2 separate regions of the Homo sapiens genome follow, and region 1 is linked to region 2. Evidence: promoter capture Hi-C in 16 types of primary human blood cells and fetal thymus (Javierre and others, 2016). All regions are on one chromosome and are shown on one strand. Each heading gives the region's core, a stretch centred on a gene start or on the middle of the fragment in contact. The rest is flanking DNA. Distances are from core to core; before and after follow the strand shown.

The links. Contacts are between HindIII fragments. The CHiCAGO score rates a contact against its expected background, and 5 or more counts as called.
Region 1: a fragment that was not itself captured here is called in contact with the fragment with the promoter of PAGE4 in region 2 in 3 of 17 cell types (M2 macrophages, M0 macrophages and monocytes); the score reaches 6.6 in M2 macrophages.

Annotation. Positions count from the first base shown.
Region 1 is chrX:49,272,743-49,279,749 of GRCh38, forward strand. All of the region lies in intron 1 of PPP1R3F (protein phosphatase 1 regulatory subunit 3F), which reads left to right. Among named protein-coding and RNA genes, the nearest start is that of PPP1R3F, 6.5 kb to the left of the region's middle. RefSeq lists an enhancer at 4,466-4,965. The HindIII fragment of the contact is 1,188 bases long and covers 1,884-3,071 here.
Region 2 is chrX:49,823,720-49,830,576 of GRCh38, forward strand. PAGE4 (PAGE family member 4) reads left to right here and starts at 5,584. Exons shown (of 5, transcript NM_007003.4): 1 at 5,584-5,632; 2 at 6,680-6,787. The coding sequence starts at 6,710. RefSeq lists an enhancer at 5,488-5,988. The HindIII fragment of the contact is 15,040 bases long and covers 5,252-6,857 here.

The DNA.
Region 1 (7,007 bases), core at 1,228-3,727, 550 kb before region 2:
CTATGAACATCAGATCCATTCTCTCCGTGAGGCCTGCTGTGCATGCTGTGTTGTGTAGGTGCTATGATTATCCCCATTTAGTAGAGGGGAGACAGGTAGCTCAGAGAGATGAGCCAGCTTGCTCAAAGCCTCTCAGCTAGTGAGTGACAGGGCCAGGGAAGAAATGCTAGGGACATTTATTTTTTTCTATTTTTTTTTTTTAAACTGGTCCTCTAGAAAGCGTGGCATGATTCAGGGCAAATTCTGGATTTCACTCTTGGTGTTCCCAGCATGTCGTGCTTTCCTTTTACCTTTTTTTTTTTTTTTGCTTTATCGAGGTATACCTACATAAAGTGTACTGATATTCTGTGTATAGCCCAGTGGATTTGTACATATGTATGCACTTGTGTAGCCACCACCCAGATGAAGATACTGAGCAGGTCCAGTACCCCAGAGCTACCTTCATTTCTATCACTTTCCCAAGCTGTCATCCCCGCCGGCTGTCATGGGAACCCTGTCTGTAAGATGCGACAGTTTGGGTAAAGGAGTTTGGTCATTTTAAAGAGTGTGAAAGGCAGAGAACAGAGAAATCAAAACCTTGCAGGGCCAAGGTGGGTGGAGAGGGTGTTTTTCTTTTAACATACATGGGCGGTTTTAAGGAGAAATTGAAGCAGCCTGTTCAGACAATTGTTTTGGTATCTGGCCCCAGGTCTGTGGTTCCTAACATGACTTGTGATATTATTTTAAGTGGGCAGATGGCTTTTTGATAGCTTCTTTATCTTTCGATCTCAGCTCTTGCAAAGGGGAGGTTGGTGCTCATTGCAAGATCAGCGATAAGGGTTTCTTTGTAGGTCGGTGGCTTTCTTGGTGAGTACATTTCAACATATTATTGTTTTAGAACCTGTGTGCTGCCAGTGACTTGCAGCACTGTTGAAGACTAGCCACCCTTTGTGACCTAGCCCTCTTGGGAAATGGCGGAGGATCTCAGGGTATATCCCTTACCTGTGGGAGCCCTATCAGAGGGCTTCCTGTTGAGGAAATGTTGGCTGTAGGCCCTCTGTGCACTGAGCACAGCCACATCAGGTGAGGGCATGGGAGAAGTCCGTGGTAGCCATCAGGATAGAGTTCAGAAACCCAAATGGCTGCTTTCCCTGGGTTGCTGGACCAGGCATTTGGTAACTCTAAAGCTTAGAGATGATTCATCGACAAGCATTTATTGACTGCCTACTGTGTGCTGGGCACAGTGCTAGGTTCCAGCAGGGAAAGAGATGCAGAGTGGTCCTAAGATGTCACAGGGCTTGTGGGATGGAGTACAGAGGATTTGTTGTATGAGACCTGGCTGAGCCCCTGCTCTTCGCCAGGCACTTCACTGAGTACTATATTTTCATGCAAGGTCTGGTTTAATTCCGACAACATTCCCTGTGAAGTAGAGGGTTTTAAATTTCTCTTTCCTGGATGAGCAAACTGAGGCTCCCAGAGTCCAAAGTCCTAGGGCTGGTGTGGGGAAAAGCCCTCCTGATCTTCCTTGGCACTTGACACTACCCTTTGGAAGTGTCCTATTCTTCTTAAAAGTAAAGACCAAGAGAGCCTCACCATGGTCTTCAAGCACCCTCCCATCCCATTCCCCAATCTGGCCTCCACTGGCTCATAGTCTTAACACCAGTGGTCTTTCTGAGCTCCTGTCACCATGGTCTTTCTGTTACTCCAAAGGGCCTCGCTCCTTTCTGCTGCAGGGCCTTTGCCCCTGCTGTTTCCTTCACCAGGAACATTTATCCCGTACCCCTTGCAGTCTCCTCCAGTGTTGATCCCTCAGTTCTAAGAGGACTTCCCCAGGGGAGCCTGTCCACCCCAGTGTCCTCGGGCCCCTGGCTTTTTCATAGCACTCATCAGCCCAGCACGTGCTAAGCTTTGTTAGAGAATGTCCCATGGCAGAGCAGATGAACATCGCCACCAGTCGAGGGGTCATCGGCCACCCTGCCTAGCAGTTCTACTATATTTTTTTGATCCACTCGTTTCTCCTCTGAAGTGACTCTTTCAAATGTTCTTTACCTTCAGACTTTCTCTCCTGCTTCAAAAAACAAAACAGAAGCCATAAGAATGGAACTCCCTATAACTTGTGGCCCCCAAGTCTGCACGCTGATTTCCCTCCCCTGTGTTACAGATGACGAGGAGTCCCTTCTTGCTCAGGCCACTTCTCCCTCCTGTGCTCTGGGTCCCAGTTTCTGCTACTTGCTCTAGAATCTGACATCATCAGTCACCTTTTCTCTCCTGGCAGGTTTTCTGCTGCCCTCCTTGCTTGATCCTCTATTCACCTTTGCCTGTGCCAGCATCCCTTCTGTCTCCGCTGACCCCACGTTCTCTCCCTCCTGCTTCTGGCCAGCACCTCATCACCCTCCCCTTCACTGCTGACCCCTGCAGAGTTGCCTGTACTTGCCTTCTGCACTTGCTCACCCCCGTAAGTGTTAGCCCCCGGCATCTGCCAGATTCTGCAGGTGGTTTTTTAGTTTTCCTCTTGAAGTGGTTGACCACTCCTACTTAAAACACTTTGTCTTCCCTTGCCTTGAGACCACACTCTGCTGGTTTTCCTCTTAACTCTCTGGCCCTTCTCTTTCTCCTGGCTCTTCCCTTAGCTTCATGTATCCAAACTCGGCATCTCCACTTGACTGATGGCCCAAATAATTCCTCAAACTCACCTTGTCGGGGACTGCATTCATCACCTCTCCCACAGTGTTCCCAAGCAGCCTCTCACTCCCCTACCTCCCCACTTGCTCGTTTTGCTTTTCAGCATCCTTAAGTAAGCCCTGCCTGACCCTGTAGATTGGGCCAGGGACCCTTATTCTAGGGCATTCTTTCCTTTTCTAAAGGCACTGATCGCAGTTTGTAGTTATATCTTTATTAGGGGGTTGCTGGATGACTCTCTGCCCCGCTAGACTGTAAGCTCCGTGAGGGGTAGGGACATGGTCTGCTTTCATTCACCACTGTATTCCTGCAGGCCTGCCACAGTGCCTGGCACTTAGCAGGTGCTCAATAAATGTTTGTTGAAATAATGAGTTTGAGTATTTTTTTAATGTCTTCCTCCATACTGAATTGTAAGCTTCCTAGTTGGGTTTGCTCACCATGGTGTCTCCAGGATCCGTCACTGGGGCTGATGCACAGGAAGGCCCACTGTCTTTCAGTGCACCTATAACTGAAGGGATGGGGATCCAACCTGCTATCTGAGTTGGCAGCCTCAGGGGAAACCAGAATAACTGGAGTTGAACGGGACAAGTCAGGGGCATCTTAGTTTTCTGTAGAGTGAGGAATTAATGTGAACGTGATCCTCTTTTATGCCACAGAAAACTTGGTAGGGCATTATGGTTAAGGACATGGGCCTGAGGCCACGTGCTAAGAAAGTGGCAGAGCTGGGATCTGAGCCTGTGTGGTCCTGCTCTAGTGCTCCAGCTCTTAGCTACTGTACCAGGCTGGGTGATGCATTTTACCAGCAGGGCAACACTGGGCAAGTTGCTTTCCTTTCAGAGCTTCAGTTTCCCTCAATGGAAATTTGGAGGGGGTTACTGTTAAGTGCTTTATAGGTACTTTTCAAATATTTCTTTGATCTGCTGAACAACTCACTGATGTAGGTATTATTATCCCCTCCTTAGAGATGAGGTAACTGAGGCACAGAGAGGTTAAGTAACTTGCCCCAGGTCACACAGCTGATAGGTGGCAGAGCTGGAATTGTTCAAAATTGCATATCCTAACCCTTTATTGAGTTGTGAAATCAATTTACTGGGTTTCAACAAGCATTAAAAAGAAAAAGGAAATAGCATAAGAAATGCCAGTGTATCACCACATGCAGTAAAGGTAAGTATTGTTTCACTCGAAGAACAACCATTTTTCAGTTATTTATATGTCTGTTTACACGTGTGGGTGTGCTGGGTTATGATGTAGAATGGATTTCTTACTATGGGTCGTGGCCAAAGAATGAAGTCATGGCTGTTGAAGAAGCTCATGGCACGAGAAACTGCTCTCCCTCTACCCCACTGGATCACCCGCAAGTCCCAGAGTTGAGGCTGACACACTTGTTGGGGAAGGCAAAGCAGTGCCCCACATAACTTGGTGGCTTTCACAGCCACCTTCAAACCCTGTTCTTTTCAGAAAGCAGATGGCTCAGGGTAACTGCAATTCTGAGTATCGTGGGGCAGGTTTCTGAAGCCACTCATCCCCCCGGAAAGTCAGCGTTATCTTCAGGTTGACTACATGGGAGCCGGGGTCTGCTGAGTTTCCCTTTGGGTTTCAGTGCCTGACCCACTTTGGGCTGGCAAAATTCTTTGAAAACATGAATGCTGGGGGTGCTCCAGAGGACTCGGGTGGTGGTGGCAATGGCAGTCTGTGACTGCTCTGAAAGTCTGCTTTGCTTTTCTCCACAGGGCTTGTCAGCCCTCACCCGCTCGCTTACTCTGTGACTGGCGAATCACCTTTCTTGGCTTTCTTGGCTGGCCTAGGCCGGGGCCAACACCACCTCTTTCCAAATCCTCACCCTCTGGTCTCCTCGGGGCCTATCAGCTTGGCAGCCATTGTGTTTCCTGATGGCCGGAGGAATTTGCACGCCCAGGAGACTGGCGTGCAGGCCTGAGATGGCCCCTTTTAGTCGACACCAGCTTGACTAGTGCTCACTAGCACCCAAATGATGCATGTCCAAGATTTTCCAGATCTGTGTGCCCTGGCCCCTATGGCTCACTGCCCTTGAGGGGATGCCACGTGGTACTTGTGGGGCTGGTGCCAAAAGAACAGGTTTCCTTCTTGAAAACGAGCAGGCATACTGCAGGTACAGTTTTGTTCTTAATCTTCTCCCTCCCCATTTTTCTAAGAACCCCTCTTCTCTGTTACCGATCAGTGAGTCAGTATACATTTGTACTTGATTTCTCTTACTATCCTCATGTTGATTGAAGTCATAGCTGCCCTTGAGTTTTTACTGTGAAAGACGGTTCAAAGATAACTTGTTTCTTTTTAAGCCCACAATTTCAAACTCTCTTCAAAGTGGAGCCCTCCTGGAGTGTTTGTTACCAGCGTGGTTGTGTAGTCAGTGAGTGTAGAGATGCAGTTCCTTGAGTTTTAGTTTTTGCATTTGTAAAAAGGAAGGGTGTTGTTTTGAAGGATAGATGTGAAGGTTTTCAAATGCCTTGGTGTGTCAATGAGAGGGGCCCATGGTGGAGGAGGTGAACAATACATGCTTGTGCTTTCTGCTTTCATATCTGACTTTGGAGAACGACTTGTTTGCTTCTGTCGATGTTGTGGATCTTGGGATTGGCTCAATGGCGTGACCTGCTTTTTGGATGTTCTCGCCCTCCTCAGCCATGGAAAGGGTGCTCTGGGGGCTGAAGGATTGATTGTGTATTTGTTTTTCTTTCTCCTTCCTCCAACTGAATTGTGGAGTCCTTTACCTGCTGGCTAGCTGATTCCTGAGTGTTCTCCTTTTTCTGTCTCACATCTATGACTGCAGTGGCTTTTAGAAGCCTGTTTGTAATATATGTCCGGACTAGGCCAGATGGAGGAGAAGGCTTGCCTGCTACTGCGCACAGGTGGGAGGGCTGGCTTTCTGTCTGTCTGTGGGCCTTCTTGAAGAGGCTTGGTTTAGAAGATCCTAGGAGGAGGATGTTTTCTGTCATGAAGGACTATGGTAACAAAAAGAAGTAAGTTAGTGCAGCCTGGCAGAAATTGTGTTGAAACAAAAGTCCAAAGACCTGGATTTTAGGACCACGGAGGGGATTGGTGTGAGACCAAGCTGGTTTGCTCTGAATCTCTCTTTCTCATCTGTGATGTGTGGGAGGTGGCAGCTGGGCTCCCAGAGTCACCCACCCTAGGCCCTGTAGTATTCTGATTCAAGTACCTCTGGTGGGATTTGTGAGTCCTAGACAGTAGAGAAAGACAGACGGTCCCTTCTAGACTCTAGATCCGTATATATGGTTCAAATGTTCTCCCCGAGGGTGTTTATAGAAAGCAGTTCTTGCAGCCATTCTGTGTCTAGTGGCCTCCTAGCCACGCATGTCCCAGGCCCATGGAGGTAGGGAAATGGGGAATGAATATGTGGGCAAAGGCAGGTCCAAAGAAAAGCCTGCATGAAGGAGGAGGGAGGGATCTTGTCTAGTATTGATGCCTCCCTCTATCTACTTCTAGAAAGGATGGAGATGGGTTGGGTAAGACCCCAGTCTCCCTCATCCAAGAAGCAGCAGCTGACTGGGTAAGAGCCAAAAGGCCTGGGTTGTGATGTGAAGTGTATGACCTTGAGCCATTTACTCAGCCTCTGTTTTATCCTCTGTAAAATGGAGACAATAGTACTGCCTGCTTCAGAGGATTACAAGTACCTGTCTCATAGGGTGATTGTGAGGATTGAATTAACACATGTTGCCCAGGCACCGTGGCTCATGCCTGTAGTACTAGGACTTCGGGAGGCTGAGATGGGAGGATCGCTTGAGTCCAGGAGTTCACGACCAGCCTGGTCAACGTAGGAAGACCCCATCTCTAAAAACAAAATACAAAAAAACAAAAACAAAAACCAAAAAACCCCAAAAACTTCTTTAAAAAAATGTGAAGCACTTAGAACAGTGTGTAATGCCATAGTAGGTACTATGTATGGGTCAGATGGTGATACTCGTTTCTGTGAAGGTAATTGGTTATGGGTTTTCAAAAAGTTTCAACCAGGCCGGGCACGGTGGCTCATGCCTGTAACCCCAGCACATTGGGAGGCCGAGGAGGGTGGATCACCTGAGGTCAGGAGTTTGAGACCAGCCTGGCCAACATGGCGAAACCCCGTCTCTATTAAAAATACAAAAATTAGCTGGCTGTGATGGTGGGTACCTGTAATCCCTGATACTTGAGAGGCTGAGGCAGGAGAATCACTTGAACCTGGGAGGCAGAGGTTGCAGTGAGCCGAGATCATGCTATTGCACTCCAGCCTGGCGACAGAACGAGACTCCATCTCAAAAAAAAAAATTTTTCAACCATTGTCAGAAGTATCAAGAATGTCACATTGCCTCTTAGGAAGAAAA
Region 2 (6,857 bases), core at 4,334-6,833:
TATGGTTGTGCTGTATTATTCTTATTGCTAGATTCAATTTGCTAATATTTTGTTGCGGATTCTTACATTTATGTTAGTGACAATCCTAAGAACCCCAAATATTTATGCATCTAATAACAGAGTCACAAAATACATGATGAGAAATACACGAATCTACGATTACGTCTGAGATTACAATATTTCTTTCTCAATAATTGATAGAACATGTTGGCAGAAAATCAGCAAGGATACAATAGACAATAATCTGAAAGACACAAACCACCAAGCCTCACTCAGGAAGAAATAGATAAGCTGAATAACTCTGTATCTGAATAACCCTTTAAAGAAATTGAAATTGTAGCTTAAAAATGTTTCCAAGAAGAAAACTCCAAGCCTAGATGGCATCACTGAAGTATTCTACCAAATATTTAAGGAAGAAGTAATACCAATTCTATGCAAAATCTTCCAAAATATTGAGGAGGAAAGAATGCTTCCCTACTCATTCTATGAGGCCAGAATTTCTTAATTCCAAAATTGGACAAAGATATTAATAGAAAAGGAAAATATAAATCAACATCCATCATAAATATACATGCAAAAATTCTAAACAATATTTTAACAAATTAAATCCAGCAATGCATTAAAAGAATAATACATCATGACTGAATGGAATTTATTTCAGGAATGCAGGCTGGTTTAATACTTGAAAATGAATCAATAAAATTCACCTTATTAACAGCTAAAAAAGAAAAAAAATATGATTATTTTAATAGATGCAGAATGTTGAAAACTTTTGCCCTATGATCAGGAACAAGACAGAGATTTCCACTTTCCCCACTTGTGTTCAACATTGTAGTGGAGGTTCTAGGTAGTGTAGTCATGGAACGAAAGTAAGTAAAATGCATGCAGATTAGGAATAAAGTAAAATCGTCTATTCACAAATAACACAATTGTTTACGTAGAAAACATGATAGAATCTAATTAAACCAATGAAAATCTACTAAAACCAACAAGTGAGTTTAGCAAAATTGCAGGATACAAGCTCAATATAAAGAATAAGTTGTATTTCTGTCTACTAGCAACAAACAATAAAATGGAAATAAAAACAATACCATTTACAATATCATAAAACATGAAAAACATAAGGGATAAACCTGACAAAATATATGAAAAATCTATACATTGAAAACTACAAAATATTTCTGAGAGAAACTAAGACCTGCATAATTGAAAAAACACAAAAAAAGAAAAAAAAAGACCTACATAAATGAAGAGATATATCTTGTTCACGGGTCTGAAGACTCAATATTGTTAAGATGTCAATTCTCCCCAAATTGATCTATAAATTTGGTGCATTCTCAATCAAAATTACTGAAGGTTTTTTGGGGGGTAGAAATTGACAAGCTGATTCCATAATTCATATGGAAATGCAAAAGACCAAGATTAGTCAAAGTAGGATTTCAAGAGTTACTACAAAACTATGTCACAGTAGTGTGACATTGGCATAAAGATAAACAAATAGATTAGCACAGCACAGAGAGTCCAAAAATAAACTCACACCTATACAAACAACTGATTTTTGGCAAAGGTATACAGGTAGAGACATAACAACCAGCAAAGGCCAGCATGACCAACGTACCCTCACTAATTACCTGTGAAGGGATACATGCATAAGAGGAGGCTTGCCCAAGAGAAAGAAGTCCAAAGCCAGATGAGCTTTCTAGCACAAGTGAGAGGCCTGCACACCATCAGTGAAGACTGAAGTGACAAGCACAACTATGAAATGGGGCTCAGTTGGCACAGAAAGGTGAACCTGGTGGTTTCTATATAAGGAGACTGGGAAACAAGGGCTTCTCCTTCCGATGGTGGAGCTGTCAAGGACAGAATCTTCCTTCCTCTCCAGTTGCTTCAGGTGAACTACTCGGAAATGCTGACGCTAAGTAATAGCTATCTGAATAGATATGAGCATGTGTGCAGCAACTGAATGGGCATGAGTAGTATTTGAAGGAGTTCACAGGTAGTTGGAGTAACAGTTTAAAATAACATACTTTGTCAATCCATGTCAAGATTTCCAGGAACTCTCCTTTGCAATCATGAAAATTGCCTTTATGTTTACCAGTCAGTGTTTAGAAAAATCATCTCACAAAATATTTATATTCATAATATTTATATTCATGCCCTTATTGTGGCATACAGTAGGTCAAAGGACACCAGAGAAAAGATCCTCCTCTGACCCACAGCCTCGGTCTCCAGCTCCAGTGGCCTCTGCAGTTTGCAAGCATGCTTCCAAGACTTAGCACATGATGTTTCTTCTGCCAGTCCTGCATTCTGCACATGTGGGCACCTACACCATATCACCTCTCATGGATGGTGCTCATGGGGTTACTAAGCTTCTCCTTGAGCTGAGGGATTCAAAGGAACTACTGGATCCATAGGGTAGCACAAGGTGAAGAAGCATACATGTTTATGTTTATGATTCAGGCTTAAACCAGAATCGGAAAGATACAGATTTAATTCCAGGCATAACTTGCCAGAGGGTGTGACATTAGACAAGTTGTACATACTCTCAAGCCCCTATTTCTTCATGTAGGAATTTTTTTCATGAAGAAATGTTTAAGGAAGTGGACTGAAAATGGTTCATGAGGATGTTTGCTGCAGCATGAATGATCATCTAAAATGATAAATATATGGAAACACATGCACTAAAATGACAAATAGAAGATAGGTTTTTAATGAATGCTGGAACTCCAGAGTTATTTCTTGATTCTCCTCTTTCTGATTTTGTGGATTGTTTATGAGCATGAATTACTTGAATAACAATGTTCAAACGTATTATTTATCAAAAGTGCAAATTCAAATAGTAGTGTGGTGTTTCCTCCCATCAAATAGCAGAAAACAGTAGAATTAGTCAATTTTTAGTGATTGGATTATTTGTAAGGAGCAGATATCACCTGTGACATAAAATGAATACAATGAAAGTGACATCTATAATCATCACAATGATACAAACAAGGGCTTGGGATCACCTACATCGTTGATCAGAGTGCTTGCTTTGCACTAATGTTGCCTGAGGATGAGGTTCTCTGGGAAGGCTCATGGTGCTGGGCAAATCGGGATTTCTTTTTCAGTTCAGATCTAAGCTCTCACACAGAAAGGACCTTACCTGTCCTCTCACTCCTTCACAGCATCCTAGAGAAACTTGATCCTATGCAGAGAACACAGCAGCTGCCAACCGACAGGCACCAAGGTCAGGGAGGCAGCAGGCTGCAGATAGCCTTTCCAAGTGATAATAGGAAACACCTGAGAGCTAATGAAAGCACTTTACCTGAGGAGAAACAGGAGGCTGAGACTAGAGCCCACAGTTTATACTGATTGCAGAGTGTGAGATCTCAGTCTCTCAATAAATCTTTATTTAATCTACATAAAGATCTGAGTAGTAGGAGCAGCTCCTGCTTAGATATAAAAAGTGGTTATCCCTGATTGGTGATATCAAGGAAGAATTATATATTCTTCACACTTGGCTCTGTATTGACTCTACATCTTATCTGTAGGAGAGAGGGAGAGAAGGAGAGGGAGATCTGGCAATTCTACTTCTGCCATGGGGGATCTTTCTAACTCTCAAAGAATGTGCGCTTCTTTAAGGGTAACCTGCAGAGTCTGAGAACGGTCCAGGTCCAGGCATGCACGGACAGAAAGGATATTTTTCCCCCAGGGGTTTAGCGGGGGCAGGAGGGGTTGGACAGGGATGTGCAGGGCAAGCTCCTTTCTGTCTTGCAGGCACCCATCTAACTTTTGCCCAAAGCAGTAACAGTGGGCTTCTGTCCCCCTACCCCCAACCCCCCACACCTTCTCTGACAGCAGAGGATCAGACCACCTAGGTGATGGTGAAGCTCTTTGACGTGCACCAGGTGCAGGAGACCTATGACCCCTAGCACTGCCTTTTATCTGCTGGGTTCCCCTTGGAGAACCATATATCTTTGGAGCCCCAGAACATGCTGGTTGCACAAGAACAAAGCACACTTACTGTCTGAGAGGAAGGCTGGTGGTGTGGTAGCACTATTGAACCTCTCTTTTCTTTTGAGATCATATTGTACATACACAGTGCTACATAACTGGATGTTTCAAGTTAATAACTTAAAATGAACAGCACCACTATTACAGGAAATATTATTCAGCACTGGTTTTGGTAGTCACCCATATTTCATTTTCAAGTGTGCCATAATTTACTTATATAGCAAGTCCATGACCATGCTATTATAAATTAAGCTGTTTTGGAAGTCCCATGTATCCAAATTTTTGTTCACATGGTTAAAGAAAAAAAACATTCAGTGGTAGTTGTTAAAGCACAGTAAGGAAAACCTTATTTAGGACTGTGGTGATGGGTATAGGGACCATTGCAATGGGATCTTGCAGTGGGGGAGAGAGATTGGGCTCAATACTGAATACAGCGCAGGCCAGTGGGAATGTATAGCGAAGGAGCAGTATGGCGGTCCGTGGGTGGAAAATTACTAAAAGGAAACATCAGGGGTAAGGGGGATTCTGGCTAAACCCACCTAGCAGGATTCTTGCTGAAGACAGGCCAAGGGGAATCAGACATCACCTGGGGGATGGTGGAAGATGAAGAACCCCATGCGATAGCAAGTATGATCAGATATTGAGGATGGAGGGTTCATGCCACATTGACTTAGCAGGGCTCTTTGCTAAAACTGGGTTTTACAAGGAAATGCACAGATGGGCCTAGGAGGAGAAGTTTCAGAAGCCTGACTTAAAAGTTTGGCCAAGCAAGGAATATTTGTCAACATTCAAGACAGTTTCCTTAACATTAAAGTCCTAGAAGTAGAAATGCTGGGTCACAGGATTTTTTATTTTTTGAGACAGGGTCTTGCTCTGTTGCCCAAGCTGGAGTGCAGTGGTGTGATCTTGGCTCACTGCAACCTCAACCTCCTGGGCTCAAGCTATCCTCCCACCTCAGCCTCTCAAGTAGCTGGGACTACAGGTGTGCACCACCATGCCCAGCTAATTTTTGTATTTTTTGTAAAGACAGGGTCTTGCCATGTTGCCCAGGATGGTCTCGAACTCCTGGGCTCAAGAAATCCACCCACCTCAGCATCCCAAAGTTCTAGGATTACAGGCATGAGCTGCCGCACCTGGCCTGGATTTTTGTGCAAATGTTTAGGCTTATTTATGTATGTGGGTTTATCATCCTTCTCCTTTACATTTTTTTCTGGATTCCTATCATGCTTAAAATGGCTTTGCACTCTCTGAGAACCTAAGCTTTCACGCATCTCTGGGAAGACTGAATACCCTCTTAAGGGCCACTGAGGTAGCAGCACTGAGAAAAAATTAAAGGGTAAATTTGCAGGTGAAATGCAGAGCTGGGAACATTCCTAGATCCAGAAGGACAGAACATTTTGCAGGAGGGGCCAGAAGCCAGAAACAAGCCCTTCTCAGCACCGAGCAGGCCCTTCCTCCAGGTGGCACAGAGCCTCTAGGAGGCGGGAGAGGGCTGGAAAGACAACCCACGTGACACACCCCCGAGGTTTGGGATTGGCTGGTGGGGTTGACACTGCTGAGGTCTAAACAAGGAGGCAGAAGTAGGTAGGTGCCACTTCTCTTCCCTTCATTCTTCGCCAGGCTCTCTGCTGACTCAAGTGTAAGTGAGAACAGGTGTGAGTGAGTGGGCCGGCGGGCTTCTGGTGGGTCGGGCACTGTGGTCCCTGGCCTCAGAGAAGGAAGGGCCTCGAGGTCATCATCCTTCTCCTAGCAGGCAGCTATGCGGCGGGGCAGGGACAGGGGAGGAAGGAGGGCCATGAAGGGGAGGAGGGTCAGCCAAGATGCTGTGAGTTTTGGAGCGGGACACTATCTGAGTCCTGGAGGCATATGAAACTGTCCATAAAGGACGGATGCTGGGGTCCTCAGTGGGGGCCAGGGAAAGGGTGGGACAGCCCGCGCTTGACAGCGCCTGCCTCAGTGCTCGTGTTCACTGGGGGTCTTCCCATCAGCCCCTTCACCCACGAGGTGAACTGCCGCGGAGCTGTGAGGGTGCCGTTTGCATTCCAATTGTCGGGACTCTTTCACCTGAGACTGAGACTCAGTGGGTGGGTCCACCGATCGTTCCTCCATGGGAGTTTAAGTGTGAAGAGGAGCTGGTGGGCTTCAGGAGGGTCGGGCAGCACAGTCCGTGGCCTCGGAGGAGGAAGGGCCTCACAGGTGGTGGCGCCGCCATGACCTTGTGGTTGTGGCAGGGCTGGGGCGAGGGAGGAAGTTGGGCCACGGAGGGGAGAGGGATCAGATGGAGCAAAACTTGGGGGGTACTTTTTGAGGTATCTTTGAGTCCCAGAGGCACCTGAAACTGCCGAAAGAGGACAGGTTTCGGAGTTCTCAGTGGGGACCTGGGGAGGAGGGGACCTGGGGTGGCTGTATATTAAAAAATCTCTTCATAATGGAGTTTAGTTATGAAATTAAGTCTCTTTAGGAAAGACCCCATGTTTTGATCTAGGACTTGAAGATCACTTCTCTGCCGAGCTGGCTGTGGAAGAAACAAAGCAGTTTGCAGATAGATTTATTTGATGTGATTGGAAACCAGGCGTAGTTATTATTAACTCAGGACCTATTATGGAAATCTCACAAAATTAAAAAAAATTACAATCAGCAGATGGCCATGGAAAGAGTCAAGTATAATTACTCCTTTTTATTGCAGTCTTCAGTTCACGATCTTCTAGTTGCAGCGATGAGTGCACGAGTGAGATCAAGATCCAGAGGAAGAGGAGATGGTCAGGAGGCTCCCGATGTGGTTGCATTCGTGGCTGTGAGTACATTTCAGTATCTTATTTCCATTGGCAGAAATGTATTTTTCTGAAAGAAAATCTAAAACATTG